3 separate regions of the Homo sapiens genome follow, and regions 1 and 2 are each linked to region 3. Evidence: promoter capture Hi-C in 16 types of primary human blood cells and fetal thymus (Javierre and others, 2016). All regions are on one chromosome and are shown on one strand. The core of a region is centred on a gene start or on the middle of the fragment in contact, and the rest is flanking DNA. Distances in the headings are between cores, read along the strand shown. Region 1 overlaps LPXN (leupaxin). Region 2 overlaps ZFP91 (ZFP91 zinc finger protein, atypical E3 ubiquitin ligase). Region 3 holds the start of RTN4RL2 (reticulon 4 receptor like 2).

Region 1 (2,700 bases), core at 54-2,553, 1.1 Mb before region 3:
AAGAGTGAAGCATGAGGAACTATGATTGTTTTGGGGAACTATGGGTTCACTGTTTGCAGTGGCAAAATAGATGGAGAGTTTGGTGCTAACCGCGGAATAAACTCTTGGCAAATACTTTTGGACTGGATTGTTACTGCAGTTGTTGTCTTGTTATGGGCGTTTTGCCCTTTGGAGGTCACTGGAGATCAAGGGTGGCCACATAGCGAGACAATGCAGAGATATGATTTGAGGAGGAAAAGAAAGAGCAAAAAGGGAATTGGGGTGTTATGAGGAAGAAAAGACGGACTAGAAGTATAAGAATGAGGGATCTGTAGAGGTTGGAAAAAGGCCAGAGTGGTTTCATTTGTTCCATGTTTTAGTATTAAATCAAGAAGGCATAGCACTCTAACTCTAGTGATTTTGTTGCTAAGCTTTTTATTCAGAAGAATTCTGAAGGAAGAGATTACTAGGGCCTGAAAATATGACACCTCCTTCCACTCTAAGACAATTAAAACCAGCAGTGGAACTATTAACCATATTAACCAGAGAAATCCTGGATTTCAAACCTTTGGAGTAATGTAAGGTTTGTCATTCTTGGGACTCATTCCATAGCCTTTGCCAACATCTGTTGCCAGCATCTTAACTAACACTGAGTCACTAAACTATACCCAATTTCCAAACTGTATTAATTCCACAGTGTCCTGGTTTGGGGTGTGTTTGGGGATAGGGTATGTCAAAAGTGCAAAAAACAACAACAAAAAATATCTTGCACATTGTTACATTGTCTTAAAAAAAATGGCGTGTGATTTCAAAGCTGGAGAAACAGAGGAAAAGTAAAGGGCAAATTACCAGGAGGCAAGAGATGTTAATGAAGAGAAAAAGGTAGTGTTTAATAAATATCAAACTGCTTTGGAGGTAAAGTCTATTTTGATATTGGGCCAGACTCTTTTTTGGACTTGGGGTAGAATTCTATTTCTTATCCTACGTGAGTGCTGGGAGAATGTGAATTTCTGCTTGAGTTCTAGTAGTGCTAGGGCCTTTTTTCTTTTTCTCTTTCTTTTTTTTGGGGGGGATGGAGGGGACACCGAAAGGCTTTCATGGCAAATAATTCAAAAGGAAACTAATACTTATTTAGTAAATCAAGCAAAAACTAGACATTTTTACATATGTTAATCATTTTAGTGTCTGCAGCAACCCTCTGAAATAGGTGTTATCCACTTCTTTTTCAGATGAGAAAACTAAGAAAAACAAAATAACTTTTTCAATGTCACTGTCGGGAACACCTGACACCAAAACTAAGCAACAAGGTGCTCTCCTATTTTAGAAGTTTATTGGTTCTGGTGTCTGTCCAATGAAGTAACCCAGATTTAACAGAAACTTATATTGTTTTGCATCTCCTGAGCAGGCTAAATGTTAGGTAAATCTTGTCTGGAAATACAGAAAGTACCAAGTAGCCTGGAAGCTAATATTTGTGCAGATTATCCAGTTGGCTACGTCTCCACAGGCTGTTGATGGCTACACTTCAACAGTTTCTTCAAATTGTCATCAGCCCAGTAACTACCCTTGAGACTTGGTGTGGATCTTTCTTCCTGCTGGCAGAGAAATGGCATCGAGGACAGGTTGGCTCAAGTGAGCAAATATTTCCTGTCTGCAGTGGTGCCTCAGAGGCTAGCAGCTTGTATACACCCAGAAGGTTTTACCTAAACCCTCATTACGTAGGCATTAGGCATGATAGATAAAGAGGAACCAGGAGCAGATTCTGCCTCCGAATGAAATCCATGCAACCCTCAGAGACTCCCAAGAGACCTCACTTTACTCCTTTCATGTTAATATTGATATTATTTCATCTCCACAGTAAAAGACTACAGAGAAGAATTATGGAGTCTTCAGTCTAGTCCCCACTTCCCCCGCCCCCACTCTCCAGGAATCCCATATTTGTCATACTGAAATTAGTCATCTTCAAATTACAAAATCTGGCAAAAGGCATAATAACCTCACAGTGTTGGTGATATGCACACTCATATGAAACAGGAAGAGAAAAGCCTATAACTCATGACCCAGAAAGAAGGGTTTTGATAACTTTGGTTAGCTGGTGCTTCTGAGGGCAACTTCCTACTCTTTGTGGTATGGTTTCTTCTCTCTTATAATCTTTATTGTAAATGGCTTTTTATTTTGAGCTCAGGAGGATCTTTGGCTTCTAGTTAGAGCAAAGCTTAGAAAATAGAAAAGAAAGGGGCTCTAGCATAATTGAAAGATGTAGAATAAAAATTCAAAATTCTCAAATTTGGTGTGGGGTCTGGCTAATAAAAATCTGAGGCAAAAAGTTTTCTTTCTTTTTCTACCTTAGTTTTCTTTTCTTTTTCTTTCTTTTCTTTTCTTTTTTTTTTTTTTTGAGACGGAGTTTTGCTCTTGTTGCCCAGGCTGGAGTGCAATGGCACGGTCTCGGCTCACCGCAACCTCTGCTTCCCAGGTTCAAGCGTTTCGCCTGCCTCAGCCTTCCTGAGTAGCTGGGATTGCAGACATGTGCCGCCATGCCTGGCTAATTTTGTGTTTTTAGTAGAGACGGGTTTTCTCCATGTTGGTCAGGCTGGTCTCGAACTCCCAACCTCAGGCGATCCGCCCGCCTCGGCCTCTCAAAGTGCTGGGATTTACAGGCATGAGCCACCATGCCCGGCCTATTTGTCCTTCTTTTTAAAAAACTTCTATTATAAAGAAATTTAA
Region 2 (2,700 bases), core at 116-2,615, 1.1 Mb before region 3:
AGTTGTTTCTTATAATAGCAGCTAACCTTGAGGAGGTTCCTTGATACATAAATAATAAGAGAAAAAAGCCATACTAGCTTGGGTAAAGGAAGACATCATACTAGTCACTGCATGAGCAACATGCAGGCACAGTGAATATAACTACAGTTAGTTAACCCTTGAACAACAAAGCTTTGAACTGCATGGATCCATTCATACGCCAGTTTTTTAAAATATGTAAGAAAATTTTTTGGAGATTTGTGACAATTTGAAAAAACTTGCAGACAAACTGTGTAGCCTAGAAATATTGAAAAATTAAGTTATGTCATGAATGCATAAACTATAGATACCACTCTATTTGATGACATTACTGTAAAATATACACAAATATAAAAAGTTAAAATTCAACAAAACTTACACACACAAAGTCTTAGACTATATATGGTATCATCCAAAGTCCAGAGAAATGTAAAGAAACGTAAAGATGTACTAATGAATAACTGCATAAAATTAACTCCGTACATAATAATTTCATAGCTATCTCCTGTTGCTATTGCAGCAAGCTCAGCTGTTTCAAGTATCTGCTTAAAATGTCATGAGGATAATCATCACCACCTGAGTGAATTTACTGTCACAGTAGAAGTGGTATCTCTCAGTTAACTCATTTTTCACTATGTTTAGAGCAATACCTGAAACCTTGACTAACACTACGGGACCCATAAGAGTTGCCACTAGTGATACTGGAAGTGCTTCCAAGAAGCAGAGAAAAGTCACGGTATTACAAGAAAAAGTTGAATTGCTTAATAAGCATAGAAGGTTGAGGTGTGTAGCTGCAGTTGCTCACCATTTTAAGATAAATGAATCCAACATAAAAAGTATTGAAGAAAAGGAAATTTGTGAAGCCACTGCTGCACCTACAGTAGCAGGTGCAAAAATCTTGCAGTTTTTGCAAAATACTTTTATCTCACATTCAAGATGCAGCTTTTATGTGGGTACAGAATTGCTATAAGAAAGGCATACCTACAGACTCTAAGTAAACTCATTATATGACAACTTAAAGCAAAAGAAAGGTGAAGAAAGAATTTAATGTCAGCAAAGAATGGTTTGATAATTTCAGAAAGAGATTTGGCTTTAAAAATGTCAAGATAATAGGAGAAACAGCTTCTACTGACCAAGAGGCAGCAGACAAGTTCCCAGGCACTGTTAAGAAAACAGCTGAGGAAGGATATCTGCCTAAGTTTTTAATGCAACTACCCCAGTCCAGAAAAAAATGCCACAAGAGACATTTATTATATTAGTAAGGTGGGGAAGTAAGCAACAAGATTTAAAGCAGGAAAGGATAGGCTAACTCCACTGTTTTGTGTAAAAGCAGTTAGGTTTATGATCAGGGCTGCCCTTATCTATAAAGCTACTAACTCCTGAGCCTCGAAGAGAAAAACTAACAATCTTTTGGTGGTACAACAAAAAGGTCAGGAAAACAAGAACTAATTTTCTAGACTGGTTCCATTGATGCTTTGCCCCTGAAGTAAAAAAGTACCTTGCCAGTTAGGGACTGCCTTTTATGGTTCTTTTGATATTGGACAATGCCCCTGGTTACCTCATGAATTTAACATCAAAGGTGTTGAAGTGGTCTACTTGCCCCCCAAACACAATGTCTCTAATTCACCTTCCCAATCAGCGGGTCATAAGAATCTTTAAGTCTCATTACACGATATTCTATGGAAAAGGACTGTTAACTCCATGTAAGAAAATCCCAATAGAGAGAACATCATGAAAGTCAGGAAGGATTACACCACTGAAGATGCCATCGTTATAGAAAATTCCTGCTGGAGAAAATTGTGTCCAGATGTTGTGCATGACTTCACAGGATTTATGGCAGAGCCAATCAAGGAAATCATGAAAGAGATTGTGAATATGGCAAAAAAAAAAAAAAGGTGGTGGTGGGGTGGTGATGGTGAAGCCTTTAAAAATAAGCATCTTGGATAAATTCAGGTGCAAACAGACACCACACAAGAGGAAGTAACAAGATGACATGATGAAGATGAGTGCTTTTGAACAGGGGCCAGACGATCAGAAAGACAACATATAAGCAGCAATGCCAGAAAACAAACTAACATTAAAAACTTAGAAATTCTGGCAGAAAGGTTCCAATTATTCAAGACTGCTTTTGACTTCCTTTTATGACAGGAACCCTTCTATGATATCTGCCCTGAAACTAAAGCAAATGGTTAAAGTGTAGAAACATTTGTAGAGAAACGAAAAAGCAAAAAAGAAGTCAGGCAGAAATTGTATTTCTGTAAAGCTACGCCAAATGTTCCTGCCACTCCTTCTACCTCTGTCACCCCCTGAGATAAGAGTAACGATTCTTCTTCTTCCTCCTCCTTAGCCTACTCAATGTGAAGAAGAGGACAAAGACCTTATAACGATCCACTTACACTTAATGAATAGTAAATATATTCTCTTCCTTATGGTTTTTTTAAATAAATTTTCTTCTCTCCAGATTATTTTACTGTAAGAATACAGGATATAATACACATATAAAATATGAATTAGTTGACTTTATGTTATTGATAAAGCTTCTGGTCAACAGCAGGCTATTAGTAAAGTTTCTGGGAAGTTAAATGCAGGTTTTTGTTTGTGAGGGGGAGGTGGTGCCCCTAACCCTACCATGTTGTTCAAGGGCCAACTGTACATTCTTGAAAGAAGGTATGAAGTAAGAGT
Region 3 (2,700 bases), core at 132-2,631:
AATCCCCAGTCCCTCTCTCTCAGCCTTTCTCTTCCTCCTCCTCTTCCCTCCTCTCCAGCCCCTCTCCCATCCATGGTTCCCTGTCTCCAACCCTCTTCGCCGGTTCCTGATACCCCTTCTCTAGTCACCATCCCCATCCTTCTCTGGTTTCTGATCTTTCCATTCTCCTTTTCCATTCCAGTCCCCAGGGTCCCAGTCCTGATTCTCTTTCCCGCTACCTCCATCCCAGGATTCTGGGTCCCTGTCCATAGTCTTCTTCCCATCCCTCCCCTGATCTGGTCTTTCCTCTCCTTCCCTCTTCCTTGGTCTTCACCTGGGTCCCACTTCCCTCCACGCTTTTCCCATCTAACCTTTATTCCTTCTCCCCCTCCCCCGCTCCATCTCCCTCCTCCTTTGAGCTTCCCTCACCACTTTCTCCATCTTTGAGTTCTCCTTCCTATCCCTCTCCCCCTGACCCCTCCCCACCCCACCCCCAGTCTCTGGCCCACACCCTTATCTGTCACTCAATCAGTAGAACTATCCTCTTTCTAGCGCCCTCCATCTCTCCTACCAGAGAGGGCCACTTGGATTTCCCTCTGCGCCTCCTACCTCCCCAGACAGCCCCCTACCCACATCTCCTGTCTTCCCAGGTGGCCAGAAAGTGCTGAGGCACCGGGCAGGAGGAGTTGCTGAGTCGGCGCTTCCCCAGCCGGCCCGAGTCCTCAGCGTCCCCCGGAGCAGGTGGAGCGGGGACAGCGGAACCTGAGCCTCCCTCCCCGCTCCGGGCCGGGTCCACCTGCCCCCTGCGTCCCACCTCGGTCACGAGCTCCTCGCACGCGCCCGCGGGCTCCCAGCCAAGTGCCCTCCTGCTGAGAACAGCCCTGGCGGCGGGGGCGCGGCCCCAGCGCTGAGCTTTTCCCCTTCCCCAGGTTACCCCACCTCCCCAACTGCCCCACCCTCAATCCCTGAAAGAGGGGACGCCCTGCTTCTCTCCCCAGGATGCCCTCCGCTCTCCCGCCGCTGGCGTTCTTACCTTGCAGCAGGCGCCTGAGCCCGGGCAGCATCTTGTCTCGATGCTCGGGGGAGGGGGCAGCGGGGGGAGGGCGCTCCCACTCGCTCCCTGAGCCCGCCGGATGCACGGCGGGGACCCCGCGGGGCTCCGGGAGGGCCCGGGAGTCCCCGGGCTGCGTGGCCGGGCCGCGGCGCTCTACCCTGCGCCGCCCGGGCTGCGGGCCTCGGGAGGAGCCATCGGCCCCGACGGGACGGGGCGGGGCGCGACGGGGCGGGGAAGGCTGGGGCTGGCCGTCGACGCCCAGCGCCCGCGCCCCGCTAGCTGCGCTGTCCGCTCGAGAGTCCGTCAGTCCGTCTGTCCGTGTGCCCAGGCTGCTAGCCGAGGGAGAGTGGGGACAGCGAGGAAGCTCTTCCCAACCACCCCCACTCCTTCCCGCACTCGCTGGCTCCTCCCTCGTTTGCTGGCTTGCCGACTTAACCCTTTCTCGACCACTAGGAGGCGGGAGCGGCTTTCTAACCCCCTCCACCCCGCCCCCCTCCCCCCCGCTTAAGCGACCCGGAGGACTGTGTTCGATCGTCCTCGCGGCGCCACTCTTCTAGAGAAATCCCTTCTTGGGGGAATGCGGTAGTTTAGAGGAACGCCGTGGACTTGTCCTGTTCCCCCCTCCCAACTTTCCAGGAGAAGATGAGCTTCTGGGTCACCCCCTCCCCCGCCCCCAGCCGCGTCCCTCGCGCCAGTGTCCCAGCCTCCAGCATTTCTGTCCCCTGGGACAGCTCCAAGATTCCACTTTTCCTTCCACTCCCAGACCTCAAGCCCAGTGTGCGACTATAAGAATAGTATATGCAAGAGTTTGTGCGTGCAAGATCGAGTGCATATGAGCGTGCACGTGCGCGCAAGGATGCTTGTGCAGGTGTGACTCAGGATGCTTGCCCGTTACCCTTTGTACGGGCTTGGGGAAGCGGGGGGGGGGGCACGTGAGTGTGCACACGGGTGAGCCGCTGAAAGTCCGCCAGCGTGCATGTCTGAGCTGGTGGGAAACGTGAGGCTGTGCGAGGTTTTGCGCTTGCGATCTTGGGGATGGGTGGAAAGAAATATGTGCCCGGTGTGTGTATGCCCCTTAGTGCATTTACAAGCGGGTGCGAGATGGGCGCGCGTGCGAGTGTGTGCGTTTTTTTGTGTATGTATGATGTGTCCGGGAGGGGAGACCTTATCTCCCGCGGGGGTGCAGGAGAGGACCCAAAGCTGGGGAGAAGACTGTTGGCTTCGCGTGAACTTCCTCTACCCCCTTTTAAAGAGGGGCGGATTATGGTCTCACTGGAGCCCCTCTGGCCCTTCATGGCCTGGTCACAGGCGGTATCAGCAGACCCATCACCTAGGCACTTCCCTACAAAGGCTGCAGGGCGGTTGACCCAGGTCTTGACTCGGCCCGGCGCGTCCGCGGAGCCGCCCCGGCGTAGGATAGGCTCGGGGCCCTCGGGGGAGCCGCTTCGGGTACGGTGGCCAGGCAGCGCTGGCGGGGTTGGGGCTGCTGGAGCCTCAGGTGCGGCGGTGCCGGGGCTGCTGAGCCCCCTGGGCTGCCGCTCCCGCGAGCACAGAAGCCCCTCGCCCCGCTGCCCGCGCCGCGGCTCCTCCTTTCCTATCCGTGCCAGGGTCCAATGCAGTGCCTGGCATACAGTCGGCTCTTGATAAATGTTGGTCTTATTCTTCCC

What was found. Contacts are between HindIII fragments. The CHiCAGO score rates a contact against its expected background, and 5 or more counts as called.
Region 1: a fragment that was not itself captured here is called in contact with the fragment with the promoter of RTN4RL2 in region 3 in 1 of 17 cell types (M0 macrophages); the score reaches 5.3 in M0 macrophages.
Region 2: a contact is called between a fragment that was not itself captured here and the fragment with the promoter of RTN4RL2 in region 3, in 1 of 17 cell types (non-activated CD4 T cells). The highest score is 5.9, in non-activated CD4 T cells.

What each region holds. Positions count from the first base shown.
Region 1 is chr11:58,572,918-58,575,617 of GRCh38, reverse strand. The region is part of intron 1 of LPXN (leupaxin); the gene reads left to right. Among named protein-coding and RNA genes, the nearest start is that of LPXN, 1.6 kb to the left of the region's middle. The HindIII fragment of the contact is 1,781 bases long and covers 413-2,193 here.
Region 2 is chr11:58,595,915-58,598,614 of GRCh38, reverse strand. All of the region lies in intron 2 of ZFP91 (ZFP91 zinc finger protein, atypical E3 ubiquitin ligase), which reads right to left. The region is part of intron 2 of ZFP91-CNTF (ZFP91-CNTF readthrough (NMD candidate)); the gene reads right to left. Among named protein-coding and RNA genes, the nearest start is that of ZFP91-CNTF, 18 kb to the right of the region's middle. The HindIII fragment of the contact is 2,384 bases long and covers 174-2,557 here.
Region 3 is chr11:57,459,209-57,461,908 of GRCh38, reverse strand. It overlaps RTN4RL2 (reticulon 4 receptor like 2), which reads right to left and starts at 1,381. Exons shown (of 3, transcript NM_178570.3): 1 at 1,013-1,381. The coding sequence starts at 1,043. RefSeq lists silencers at 1,105-1,374, 2,474-2,533. The HindIII fragment of the contact is 14,932 bases long and covers 1-2,700 here.